Regions from separate parts of the Homo sapiens genome. Here all the other regions are linked to region 2. The links are contacts of gene promoters, found by promoter capture Hi-C in blood cells and fetal thymus (Javierre and others, 2016). All regions are on one chromosome and are shown on one strand. Each heading gives the region's core, a stretch centred on a gene start or on the middle of the fragment in contact. The rest is flanking DNA. Distances are from core to core; before and after follow the strand shown. Region 1 overlaps SV2B (synaptic vesicle glycoprotein 2B). Region 2 holds the start of SLCO3A1 (solute carrier organic anion transporter family member 3A1). Region 3 has its middle 140 kb from the start of CRAT37.

Region 1 (4,535 bases), core at 465-2,964, 570 kb before region 2:
AGAAAATTGTTTGAGGGCTCCTGGTGGTTAAGTTCTGAAAGTTAGACTCTTCATTTTTTGGAGGGTGGCATCACAGGTTGGGTGAAGGCCTGACCCCTACACCTGGAGAATGTAAGAAGTTACACATCACGCCTGTAATCCCAGCACTTTGGGAGGCCGAGGCGGGTGGATCATGAGGTCAGGAGATCGAGACCATCCTGGCTAACAAGGTGAAACCCCGTCTCTACTAAAAAAATACAAAAAATTAGCCGGGCGCGGTGGCGGGTGCCTGTAGTCCCAGCTACTCGGGAGGCTGAGGCAGGAGAATGGCGTGAACCCGGGAAGCGGAGCTTGCAGTGAGCCGAGATTGCGCCACTGCAGTCCGGCCTGGGCGACAGAGCGAGACTCCGTCTCAAAAAAAAAAAAAAAAAAAAAGAAGTTACACAGATATTCAGGCAAGAATTTGTTTCCTCTTTTCTTTAAGCAAATTAGGCCCAAGTACATATTTTCTGAAGTGATCCTCTTATTTGTCTTTTGATTTACCTCAGATTAGGACCTGATCTAAGGTAATATGTGAGAAGCCGGGGTGCCTGTTCTTAAGAACTCTATTTCATTTCATGGTGGCTAGAGAGCTTATTAAAATATTTATGTGTGTGAACTTTGGGGAGCCGTAGCCTTTATTTATTTTCTCCTTAAATGACGATGTAATTTACGTGAAAGAGAATTCTCTGCTTTCAAAAAAGGCAATTGAAGAGTATATATGACATGCATCTGTGTCTGCACATGCTTTTCCCTCTGTCTGGAATACATGTCCTTATCTTTGCTTAGAGAGCTTTCACTCTTCCTTCAGGGTGAGTCACCTCATACTTTACCCAACTGGATCACAAGTGTCCCCTTAGAAGTGGTTTTATAGCATACCTCTATCTTGATAATCATCACACTAAATTTTAATGGCTGGTTTTCTTGTTTATCTCTTTAATTAGACTGAATTTCTTTAGGGTGATGCCCTCAAGCCTAACACATGTTGAATGTGACTTTGGTGTAGCTTAAATCACTTGCTGGACTAACCATTGGGCCTGAAGGCAACTGAAACAAAGTGTATGTAATGACAATTTTGTCATGGACCTTGGATTGCCAATGGCTTCTGTTGCCTTAAAGGAAAAGCTTACAAAGTACTGTTGCTAACATTTCTTTCATCTTTTGAACTCTCCTGAATCAAGAATCTTGGGTAGGCCAATTCAGTATATAGGCTGGAGATCGGAGGAGATGATTTATGTAGAGCGTCATAAAATATGTGTTGGCCCTTTCTCCTTTTATCTCTTCCCTTATAACTCTGGCTTTTTCTAACTGACTTGGAGAGACATTTTAAGGGCTGCCTGCGTCAGACCCATTTATGATTTATGGCTCTGCCTTCTCAGACACCCTGGGAAGAATATTAAAATATCACCCAAGGCTACATCAGCAGCCTATTACTATATTAGAGAGAAGGATATATTAAGAAAAGCAAAGGTCTGCAACAGTCTCCAGGAATAGCTCTCTTAAGTAAACACGTCTAGCTTATACATTTTGACATCAGAGGCATCTTCTTGTAACAAAAGACTCACCAATTAGTTTTCCCATGGAAATCTGAAGAATTTAGTGATAGCTTTTGGAGGCCCCTGTTTAAAAGTCTGTAGCAAATTTGGCCCTAAGAAAAATTTCTCAAAATAGTTTGGTTTTCTAGACCAATGATTCTCAAATTTCTTTAAGTATAATAATCTGGTCTCTGCCATTGGTGATTCTGGTTCAAGAGGTGTAGGCTGGAATTTAGGAAATGACATCTTTAATAATAACCTCAAGTTTATTCTGATGCAAGTGGTCTGGGGTCCTGCTTTTGGTGAACACTTGCCCGGGACTTCTTGTGTGGGGTCTTTTAGCAGAAGCTAATGATTGGCAGCTCTAGATTAAGGTTCTGAGCAGGACATGATAGAGCATGAAGGATAAGGGTCACTGGCCCATTGTAGGTGGTCATGGAGTGAATTATTTGGTGGCCCTTTTGAAAAGGAACAATGGCCATCAGCACCCTGTGCTATCTCTGTCATGCCGATTTCCACTGTATTGTAGTTGCCTATTTGCTTGCACTTTTTTCCAATTAGACTGGAGAGCAGGGACCATGACTTTCCTCTCTATACTCATAGCACCTAGTACCATGCTCAGTGTTTGCAGAAGACTAAATATGTAAGTGAATGAATAGAAGAATGAAAGAAAGTGTTGTAATTATTTGCAAATGAAGACATATTTAAAGGCTTCCAGCCTAAAAGTTTGACCAAGCTTGTTAAATATAGCCAACAGAGGAAGATGGTAATGTATGTGAGATACATTTTTAAATGTTGCATTGTTCTTTCCTATTAAATATGCAGGAGTTGGAGAGGTGCAGTGACTCCCACATGTGGCTGCGCCTCAGAATCGTCTAGGTGCCTTATTGTCTTTTTAACTGAGTTTTAAAAAAAAGTGAACACATAATACATACGCTTGGCATAAAGTGAAAATTAAGTGTATTATTCCTCACTTCCATTGTGCCTCCCTGGAAACAACCGTTTCTATCAGTTTCTTGTGTAGCTCTCCAGATATATTTGGAAGCATATGTATCCATGCCCTTTCTTACCTTAATGAGCCTGTCTTGTAAACTCTATGTTGCATCTTGATTTTTTAACTTAACAATATATCTTAAAGATTATTCCATATTAACACATATAGATCTACCTCATTTACTACGATGGCTACATGGTATTCCATTATATGGCATCTATTACATATGTATGTATGTAGTAATCCATTGTTGTTACAAGCAGTGTTACAATGAAGATCAGTGAATGTATCTCTTTGAATACATGGGCAAGTATGTGTAGGATAAATTCCTAGAGGTGGTATTCCTAGGTCAAAGAGAACGTGCATTTCAAATTTTGCAAAATTGCTCCCCAAAGAGGCTGCATGGATTATATTCTACCAATAGTATGAATGAAAGGCCTATTTCCCCACATCTTTGTTGGGACAATTTTTTTAAAAATGAAGATTCTCAGACCTTCACAATTCTATGGCTTCCAAAACTTCTAGGACCACTCCAGGGACCTGCATGTTTTAAAAATGTCTCAGAAAGTGAGGTGTTATTAATATTTAAATTTCACACTATTTCACATTTCTGTGATTCTGACTTAGAAGGTCCGTGGACCTGCCTTTGAAAACCAGCAGGTTGGTGCATAGCACTCCGTATGCACCTACGCTAGACACTGGCTTCCAGGTCCTGAAGCCCTTCCCCACTAATAAACAAACAGCTAAGAAGTGGGGAAGTGGTCTGGGTTGAAAATAATGCTCTGGCACCTTTTGCTTGCACATCTCCTTTTTCTGCCTTGCTGTGTTTTCCATTTTGGTCTTAAGTCTCTTTTTTTCTCAGATGAATCACTCAAGGGTCAACCTCTTCCCACAGGTTCACAAGAATGTACTTTAAACATGTACTCTTTGAGGACACATTCTTTGACGAGTGCTATTTTGAAGACGTAACATCAACAGATACCTACTTCAAAAATTGTACCATTGAATCAACCATCTTTTACAACACAGGTAGGTAAGAACATTGACAGATTGAATAGAAAGTAACAGGAGACAACTTGTGTTGTCCAAGAATCAAAATGGTCAGGCATAAACTTTAGGAGTAGGAAAGTATTCGTAGATACAAATGCCAAGCCTTGGTGGGGAAATGGATTTTAGCCCCAGGCATGGCACAAATTAGGTGCACAGCCTTTGCTAAGGCATTTAATGTATCTGCGTCTCAGTTTTATCACAAATGAAATGGAAACAAAAGTTGTAGCCAAATGTCCTCATGTCAGTGAGGCTGATGCTATACACGAAGGGTCTTTGGTATGAACAAAGGATGACACAAATAACAACTGGCATTCCAGGAGGGCTGCATTTTATGCACGGAATGCATTCTTGAAGACCTTGCACAATTTGAAACTTGCAAAATGCAAGACTCATGTTCTCACAATAATAAATGGAAAGGGAAAATTACATCTGTTCACATTTTTTGCATAAAGTGAAATACAAAGACTATTTTAAAATCATACTATTTCAGATTTCTGTGATTTAAAAAGTCCCAAAATTCTACCACTACACCTCTTCTTGTTACTTTTACTACCCTCATCATAAATTAATAACATACCAAGTGAAGTCGGGGTATAAGGAAACCAACTGAGCTTCATTAGGGGGCTTTACCTACATTGTCTCAAGGGAGAAATGTACTATTTTTTTTTAATCCTTCTCTTATAGCTAAGGAAACTGAGTTAAGGAAATCAAGACTTAAGCAACTTGCTCAAGGCCGTGGTTAGCAAGTGGAAGGAGTTTGGATTCATTCCTCAGTTGTTTGGCTCTGAAGCCTGCAATCTTTCCACAGAACTACTTGCATTATGTCCAGATCTATGCTTTATTCTTGGCATCAGCAGCAAGGGATAGTTTATATAAGAACATCTTTTTCCTCTATGATATCAGCCTCAAGAGCTTCAAGATCTGGTCTCTAAATATTC
Region 2 (4,367 bases), core at 128-2,627:
AATGCCATGGCAAAACAACATCCCCACCATTACACCCTCCATTCTCATTCAAGTTCTTCGGGAGAAAGGAAAAATATGGTCGGGTTCATTGCTATTCAGTTTTGAAGTTGAGCCTGCATTTGGACACAGGCGCTTGGGAGAGTGGGTCATTTTCTTTGACACAATTATTAAGGAAACCGTTTTAAATGATTCCTTGAGTCCCCCAATGGCCCAGGTGGAAGGTGCTGTTTCCTGGTACCTGTCCAGCCCTCTGAGCTTTTCTCTCAGCTTCCAAACGCTGCAGTTGAGAACTAGCAGATCCTATTGGTAGTGCCCTGTGGCCCACACTCCTTGGTAACGGTGAGAGTGGGGAGTAATTAGGAGCGGCTGCCATGGGCCAGGCATTCAGGTCAAGGCCGAGGATGGTGGCCAGGGCCACAGAGCCAGGGGACGGGTGGGGACCCAGCAGGCCTGCGGCTGGCCGCTTGCTGAGCGCTCCAGCAGCGGGGCCCTGGGCGGATGAAGGGCCGGAGAAGGCCCTCTGCTGGGGCCGCGGCGATCTTGCAGCGCCTGGACACCGAGGCTGGGGCACTAACGGTCCGTGGGGCTCCCGACGTATTCCTCTAACTTCCCCTTTCTGTCCTTTCGGTCTGGGGCCTTTTCAACACCCCCTGTGGCCGGGGACAGCTGGGGCAGAAACCGGCAGGCGGCAGAAGCCTCAAGCAGCTCTGACCTCTGGCACCTCCCCAAGACCCAGAGCACAACATCTGTCCCCAGAAATCCCCGGGCGGAGAAGAGCGCGCGCCAAGCCCTTCCTGGGTACTCAGTATTCTCCCTTCCTGGGAACAGCCTGCCCTCTGAGGCCTGGGCACCCGGGTTCCCGAGCGCCGGGTCCCAGCCCCGCGGGGGCGCCTCCGCACCCCATCTCCGCGCCCGGCGCAGAGCCGCCAGTCTCCGCCGCGGGGCCCCGTGCCCCGCAGCGCCACCTAGGGGCCGGGCGCCGCCTCCCGCCCTCAGGGGCACCCCCCTTACTCCGCAAGGACTCCGGGTCTCCCCAGTTCTCCCGGCAGCCGGACCCTCCCAGCCTCGGCCGCCGGGCCGCCCTCCGCATCCCAAGCCCGCCTCCCGTGCCTCCCCGGGGGCGCACCGGCAGCGAGGAGCGGCTCGGCGAGGGCGCGCAGCGGCGGCCCAGGCCCAGGCCTTGGGGCTGGGGCTGAGGGGGTGAGAGCAGGCGCGGCCGGCGGGCAAGGGGAACCGGGCGATGGCAGCGGCGGGCGGCCGCGGGAGGCGAGGCAGCGGCGGCGGCGGGCGGCGCGACGAGCCCCTGTGATTGGCACAGCCGGAGCCGGAGGAGGAGGCCAGGGGAGGGCGGAGGCGGGGGAGGAGGAGGAGGAAGGGGCGATCGCGGCGGCGGCGGCGGCGGCGAGGAGCTGTGCCTTCCACCTCTCCAGCCCCGGCAGGACGGGGGCGGCCGCCGCGAACCCGGGGCGGGGACAGCACGCAGCCTCGAGGCGCGCACCCCCGCCCGGCAGCGGCCCCGACACCCGGGGCGAGCGGGAAAGCGGCAGCGGCGGCGGCGGCGGCGGCGGCGGGGGAAGGATGCAGGGGAAGAAGCCGGGCGGTTCGTCGGGCGGCGGCCGGAGCGGCGAGCTGCAGGGGGACGAGGCGCAGAGGAACAAGAAAAAGAAAAAGAAGGTGTCCTGCTTTTCCAACATCAAGATCTTCCTGGTGTCCGAGTGCGCCCTGATGCTGGCGCAGGGCACGGTGGGCGCCTACCTGGTGAGTCCCCGAGCCAACTCCGCCGCGGGCCCCTTCCCCAGCCCGGCTCTCGAGCGGCCGCCTGGCCCGACGAGGGGGCCGCCCGGCGCTGGGGGCAGGCGGGCATGACCTCGGCCCGGCGTGGAGGTTGGCGAGTGGTGCAGAGGCGGCCGCCGGGGGAGCTGCCGGCCGGGGCTGCCAGCGAGCGGGTAGCGGGCGGGACCGTTGATGCCGGTAGCAGCTCGCGCGCGTCCGGCTGGGGCAGGGGGTGCCGGGGGAGGAGAGGCGGCGGGCAGGTGGGCGTGAAACTATTCCTCTCCCCCCATAAGAGCGGAGCGAGACGGTGAGTTCAGGGTTCTCCTTGGAGAGGAACGAAAAAGCGTCGGGGTTTTCAGGTGACCTGCACATGGGAAGAAAAACCAGTTAGCATCCTGCGTCCTCTACTCTCCATTGCATCCTCCTCGAGAACAAATCTATTATGCATCATTTTCTCCGGGCGCTTTCTACATCCGCCAATTACAGGGGGATATAACAGCTTAGAGTGAAATGCGCCCTAGTGTGGCCCTGGCCTGAGCCGGGGCTGCAGGGGGAATATTGCCACCCGGTATCCCTATAGCCCTCTTTGAGCGTCTGGGATAAAGTTACGGTACCTAGAGAGCAGCTGCGAGTTTGTGTAGTTCCTGCTATCCACTCTTAGTGCTAAATTCCCCATCGTGGTCTGTCGCCTACAGAAGGTTGCACCATTTTCCACAATGAATATGTATTTTATTTGCCTCCAGAAAGGGGATGTTAATGCTCAGAGGGCCCATGGGTGCGTAACATTTCAGAGGAAACAGCTTGTAATGACTCAGCACTGTCAGGTACCTACTTTGTCGCTTTCGCCTCCTCTGCTCAGGTGGTCGCAACTTGAGTTCCAGAGAGCGTGCTTCCACACCTAAGTACAGTCCTGTCTAAACGGGAAATTTTTTTTGAGAGTTTATAGTGTTAAATCATTACTTGGCTATTGACCCGCAACTGGAATCAAATGTCATAGACTTTGAGTATTCCTGAGCAAGTTTGATGGAGATAGAATTGGACAAGATTTTGGCCATTGAATAACCACATCCAGAGATAGAACCACGCGTATCCTGATGCTATGATTAATCCCTCATTCCTGGCCTTGGGGTAAAGTTCATGAGGGCCAGACGCTGGGGGCTGTATACCATTCATAAACTATCTCTTAAGGCTCAGGGCTCACTGTTAAAGGGAAATACAAGCAGTGCTTGGTCTCCGGTGTTGAGGAAGTTAGGTGGTTGTGAGAGAGGGGGTCTTCAAACTCAGCTCTGTTCCTGGGGTGACAGAATTTCAGGGCTTTTGAAAATCAAATACATTTCTGTTGCTCATTCTGAGACGAAAAGCGTTTACATCCCGGTCTCTGTCTTGTGCATTCGTAACTTGTAGACTGCAAGTGAACCCTGTAGTCAAAAGCATACCTTGTTTTCTGTTCTATAAAATACACTTATTGTGTCTATAGTTATAATATGCAGTTGCAGACAGTACCTATTAGCCCTTGGAATTTGAGGGATAGGGGATAATTGTGTTTTGGGAGTCAGTTTATCGGCACTTCCTTAGGGGAAATTTAACTGTTAAAATATTTAAATAAGTACATGTATTACAGAGATGCAAATTCACATTAATAAAATATATGTGGGTCTGTACTGTGACATATGCAAAGTACATAATACCTAACCGGGTCTATGTTTAGAAGGAGGTAATTAGTATATCAACAGCTGCCTCCACTTTAACGGTTTGTTTGCCTCAAACCAATTTTGCTCGGTAGAGTGCATTATTCATGTGTGGCAAACACCCGCAGAACTTTTCACCCCAGGAGTGATAAAAGCGTGGGCTTACTATTTTTCGGTTGCAGTGATCTAAGGATTTGACAAATAAATGAAGCTGGGCTGCAACTAGATGAATGGCCTAGCTCCTTTAGAAAGTTAAGAAGCCGAGTACTCCTGGAGTGGTGGACTTCTGGAGGCAGGGCTGGCCCCAGGAGATAGGAGGTTGACTTTAATCCCAGAACAGGGGAATGGCAAGCAGAGGAGGAATTCGGTCCACCTGGTGGCGGCATCCTGGCACTTCTAGCCTTCGCTGATGGAAAGCCTGGTTGGGTGGGGTAGGGTAACAGGAGTCAACAGGTGACTTGCAGAAAGCAGCTGGAGGCCCAGGAGAGGACAGGCCTAGGAAATTGAATTCATTTTGATTACTAGGAGTGGAGGCATAAGGCTCTAAGGGCTCTGCTTTGCCCGGCTGCCCTCGTCTTTGCCTTGCCATCGGAGCCTCATGAAAATAAATAGTTGGCTTGTCAGGGTTGACTGACGCAGCTTGCTATGGGCTTTGCTCTTCTGGGCCACTTCAGAGTTTTCTCTTCATCTGTTATTTGGGAGATGGGGAAAAAAAGTTTGCTCCTTCAGCCATGCGAGACTTCTCTGTGGATAATTGGAGAATGAAATATTGCAGGCTGTTTGCAGGAAAGGCACATTTCTTCCTTTTAATTCATCATGGCTTTCTTAGGAAACCTGAGACCTTGTGTCTGTAGGGGACCACAGGGCAGGGTCCACGTGCTAAGTGTGCGTTATACGTGATCCTTA
Region 3 (4,537 bases), core at 1,660-4,159, 520 kb before region 2:
CTCTCTCCTTTTAAACATTTATTTTTGGTTCAGGGGTACATGTGCCGGCTTGTCATATAGGTAAACTTGTGTTATGGGGGTTTGTTGTAAAGATTATTTTATGACCCAAGTACTAAGCCTAGTTCTCAATAGTTATTCTTTCTGCTTCTGTCCCTCCTGCCACCCTCCACCCTCAGGTAGGCCTTAGTGTCTGGTGTTCCCCTCTTTGTGTCCATGTGTTCTCATCATTTAGCTCCCACTTATAAATGAGAACATGTGCTGTTTGGTTTAGTTTGACTTCCTGTCTTTTTATTTGGATGCCCTTTATTTCTTTCTCTTGCCTGATTGCTCTGGCCGGGACTTCCAATATGATGTTGAATAGGAATGGTGAGAGAGGGCATCCTTGTCTTATGCTGGTTTTCAAGGGGAATGCTTCCAGCTTTTCCCCACTGAGTATAATGTTTGGGTTTGTCATAGATGGCTCTTATTATTTTGACGTATGTTTCTTCACCACCTAGTTTCTTCAGAGTTTTTAACAGAAAGGAATGCTGAATTTTATTGAAAGCCTCTTCTTCATCTATTGAGATGATCATGTGTTTTTTGTCTGTAGCTCTCAAACAAGGATAACTTCACTTCTTCTCCAATTTGAATGCCCTTTGTTTGTCTTGTCTGATTGCTCCAGCTAGAACTTCCAGTAGTATATTGAATAACAGTGGTGAAAGTGAGTATCCTTGTCTTGTTCTAGATCTTAGAAGAAAGGCATTCAGTTTTTGTCCATTCAGTATGATACTAGTTGTATATCTGTCATTTATGGCTTTTATTATGCTGATGTATGTTTCTTCTATAGCTAGATTTTAAGTTTTTTTTTAATCATGAAGGGATGTTGAATTTTATCAAATACTTTTTCTGCATCAGTAGAAATGATTTTACAGTTTTTGTCCTTCATTCTGATGATATGATGTAGCACATTGGTTGATTTGCATATGTTGAACCATCCTTGCATCCCCGGGGTAAATCCCACTTGGTCATGATGAATGATCTGTTTAATGTGTTGTCAAATTCAGTTTGCTAGTATTTTGTTGAGGATTTTTTGCCTCACTATTCAATAGGGTTATTAGCCTGTAATTTGTTTTATGAGTCTTTGTCTGGTCTTGGTATCAGAGTAATAGTGGTCTCATAAGATTAGTTTGGAAGTATTCACTCATCCTCTGTTTTTCAAAATAGTTTAAGTAGGGTTGGTATTAGTTTTTCTTTAAATGTTTGGTAAAATTCAGCAGTGAAGCCATCGGTTTCCAAGCTTTTCTTTGCTGGGAGACTTTTCATTATGGTGTTGATCTCATAACTTGTTATTGGTCTGTCAGGTTTTGAATTTCTCCATGGTTCAATCCTAGTAGGTTGTATGTGTCTAGAAATTTATTCATTTCTTCAAAGTTTTCCAATTTATTGGCAAATAGTTGCTCATAGTAGCCTCTGATGATCCTTTGAATTTCCGTAGTATCAATTGGAATGTCTCCTTTTTCAAATCTGATTTTATTTATGTGGATTGTCTCTCTTCTTTTCTTAGTTTGGCTAAAGGCTTGTCATTTTTTTTTTTTTAAGAAACAGCTTTTAATTTCATTGTTCTTTTGTATTGTTTTCTTTTGTTTCTTCCAATTTCATTTGTTTTGCTCTGATTTTCAATATTTTGCTTTTTACTAAGTTTGCTCTTACTTTTCTAGTCCCTTAAGATGCATTATTAGGTTTTTTATTTAAAGTTTTTCTACTTTTTTGATGTAGGCACTTATTGCTATAAACTTTTCTCTTCATACTGCTTTCACCATATCCCATAAATTTTGGTATGTTGTGTTTCCATTATCATTTGTTTCAAGAAGGTGTCAATTTTATTTCTAATTTATTCATCGATCCACTGTTCATTCAAGTGCACACTGTTTAATTTCCATGTGTTAGTATAGTTTCCAAAATTCTCTGGTTATTGATTTCTAATTTTATTTTCTTGTGGTCAGAGAAGATATTTGATAGAATTTCAGTTTTTTTTTTTTTAAATTTGGATTTCATTGAGCTTTTCAAAACAGCTATTTTGAATTATCTGTCTGAAAGGTCACATATCTCTGTATTTTTGGGACTCTTTGTTTGATGAAGTCATATTCTCCTGGATTGTCTTGGTGCTTATGGATGCTTGTGGGTGTCTGGGCATTGAAGAGGTGGGTATTTATCATAGTCTTTGCAGTCTGGGCTTGTTTGTACTCATCCTTTTCAGGAAGACTTTCTAGGTATTTGAAGGGACTTAAGTGTTGTGGTCTAAGTCTTTGGTTACCACAGCTGTATTTATTTTAGGGGGCACACTAAGCTACCCAGTAATACTGTGGCTTTTGCAGACTCATAGAGGTACTGCCTTGGTGGTCTCGGATAAGACCCAGGAGAATTCCCTGGATTACCAGACAGAATCTCTTGTTCTTTCCCCTTACTTTCTTTGAAACAAATGGACTCTCCTTGTTTGTGATGAGCTGCCAGAAGCTGCAGGAGGAGTGACACATGCACCCCTATGGCCACCACCACTGTGCTGGGTCAGACCCAAAGCCAGCACAACACTGGGTTACACCCAAGGCCTGCAGTCACCACTGCCTGGCTACTGCCTATGCACACTCAAGGCCCAAGGGTTCTACAATCATCATGTGGCAAATCCAGCCAGGCTTGTGTCCTTCCCTTCATGGCCACAAGTTTACCTCAGTCCCAGTTGGGTCCAGAGATACCATCTGAGAGCCAGGTCCTGGAGTCGAGAACCTTAGGAATCTACCTGGTGCTTTTTCCTATTGTGGCTCAGCTTGGCACCAAAGCCACAAGATTCTTTTTCACTCTTCCCTCCTCTTTCCTCAAGCAGAGGAGTCTCTCTCCATGGCCACCACTGTCCAGGCCCATGGCAAGTACTGCCTGGGTACCACGGATGTTGACTCAAGGCCAAGGGAAGGGCACTTCAGTCAGCTTGAGGTAAATGTTGCCAGTGCTGAATCTCTCCCTTCAGGGCAGTGGGCTCCCCTCTGGCCAAGGGAAGGTCCAGAAATGCCATCCAGGAACCAAGGCCTGGAACTGGGGACCCCAGGAGTCCACTTGGTGCTCTATCCCACTGTGGTCAAGCTGGTGCCCAAGCTGTAAGACAAAGTCCCCTTTACCCTTTTCACTCCTTTCCTCTAGCAGAAGGGGTCTCTCTCCATAACCACCACAACTAGGAACGTTCTGGGTCATATCTGAGGCCAGCACCGCTCTGAGTCTCACCCAAGGCCCAGAACAAGTACTACTTGGGTATCACTGCTGATTATCCAGGGCCCAAGGGCTCTTTAGTCAGCAGGTGATGAATCCTGCTCAGACTGGTTTCTTCCCTTCAAGGCAGCAGGTTCCATTCTGGTCCAGGGTTTGTCTAAAAATGTTGTCTGGGAGCTAGGGCCTGGAATATGGGCCCCAGAACTCTGCCTGGTACCCTATCCTACTGTGGCTGACCTGGTATCCAAGTTGTAAGACAAATTCCTCTTTATTCTCCCCTGTGGTCTCCTCAAGCAAGAGTCTTTCCTGGAGCTGTGAGCTGTGCTGCCTAGGATTGGGGGAAGGGTGACACGAGCACCCCTCCAGCTTCCCCACCTGGTGTCTCACTAGGTCGGGTACCCTCCAAGTTCACTGGCTGTGAGCCCAGCACAGCATCAGGACTTGCTCAGGAATTACAGACCTTGTGACCTAGACTGCTATTCAAATTTATTTAGGACCCCAGAGCACTTTAACCTGTGATGGAGGGGTTGCCAGAACTCAGGTTTCAACTGCTGGGATGGATGATTTGCCTCTGGCTGCGGCTGGTCTAAATGCTCCCTCTGTGGGTGCTGGCTGAGTTCGGCCTGGAGTTCTGCTGTAACTGCACAGCACTGAGTTCCAAGTTCCAATACAAAGTCTCATAGCCACTGTGCTTTCCCTCTCCAAAGTACACAGATTCTCTGTCCACGCCATGTGGTCACTGCTGGGGGATAGGGGAGGGGTGTGTAGGTGATTGTTTTTCCTACCCTTTTCATAAGATGTTAATATGATTTCTTTAATATCAAGCTGATATTATGTTAAAACCAGGTATTGTTTTCCTAAATATGATATTAAAACCAGGTACAGGGATTACTCACCTGATTTTTGGTTCTTATGAAGATTTGTTTGTGTGTGGATAATTGTTCAGTTTGGTGTTCTTTCAGCGGGGACAGTTGCTGGAGGCTTCTATTCTGCCATCTTGCTCCACTTCCTCTGTCTGATTTTTTTAAGGCACTTCCTTCCTTTCTGGCACTGCAAAATACTCCAAGCTCATCTTGCATATTTCCTGTCTCAATCCTAGAATCAGCCATTACCTCAAGGAGTGCTGGTTTCTTTTTTTTTCTTTTTTCTTTTTGGAGATTGGTATTGGAAATCAAGATTTTGGATCTAGGTATGCTTATTGTTTCTTTTAGGCCTGTTTAGCTGACAGAGCAAAGAAATATGTGTATATGTTAACTGGTATACACATATCTATACATATCAATACTATGTAACCACAGGTATC

The links. The method cuts DNA at HindIII sites, captures the fragments that hold promoters and counts their contacts. A CHiCAGO score of 5 or more calls a contact.
Region 1: a contact is called between a fragment that was not itself captured here and the fragment with the promoter of SLCO3A1 in region 2, in 1 of 17 cell types (M1 macrophages). The highest score is 5.4, in M1 macrophages.
Region 3: a contact is called between a fragment that was not itself captured here and the fragment with the promoter of SLCO3A1 in region 2, in 1 of 17 cell types (activated CD4 T cells). The highest score is 5.8, in activated CD4 T cells.

Annotation. Positions count from the first base shown.
Region 1 is chr15:91,278,286-91,282,820 of GRCh38, forward strand. It overlaps SV2B (synaptic vesicle glycoprotein 2B), which reads left to right. Exons shown (of 13, transcript NM_001323032.3): 10 at 3,443-3,576. Among named protein-coding and RNA genes, the nearest start is that of SV2B, 180 kb to the left of the region's middle. The HindIII fragment of the contact is 1,146 bases long and covers 1,142-2,287 here.
Region 2 is chr15:91,852,331-91,856,697 of GRCh38, forward strand. SLCO3A1 (solute carrier organic anion transporter family member 3A1) reads left to right here and starts at 1,378. Exons shown (of 10, transcript NM_013272.4): 1 at 1,378-1,758. The coding sequence starts at 1,579. RefSeq lists silencers at 800-974, 843-982. The HindIII fragment of the contact is 9,711 bases long and covers 1-4,367 here.
Region 3 is chr15:91,325,852-91,330,388 of GRCh38, forward strand. No RefSeq gene overlaps it. Among named protein-coding and RNA genes, the nearest start is that of CRAT37, 140 kb to the right of the region's middle. The HindIII fragment of the contact is 3,270 bases long and covers 1,275-4,537 here.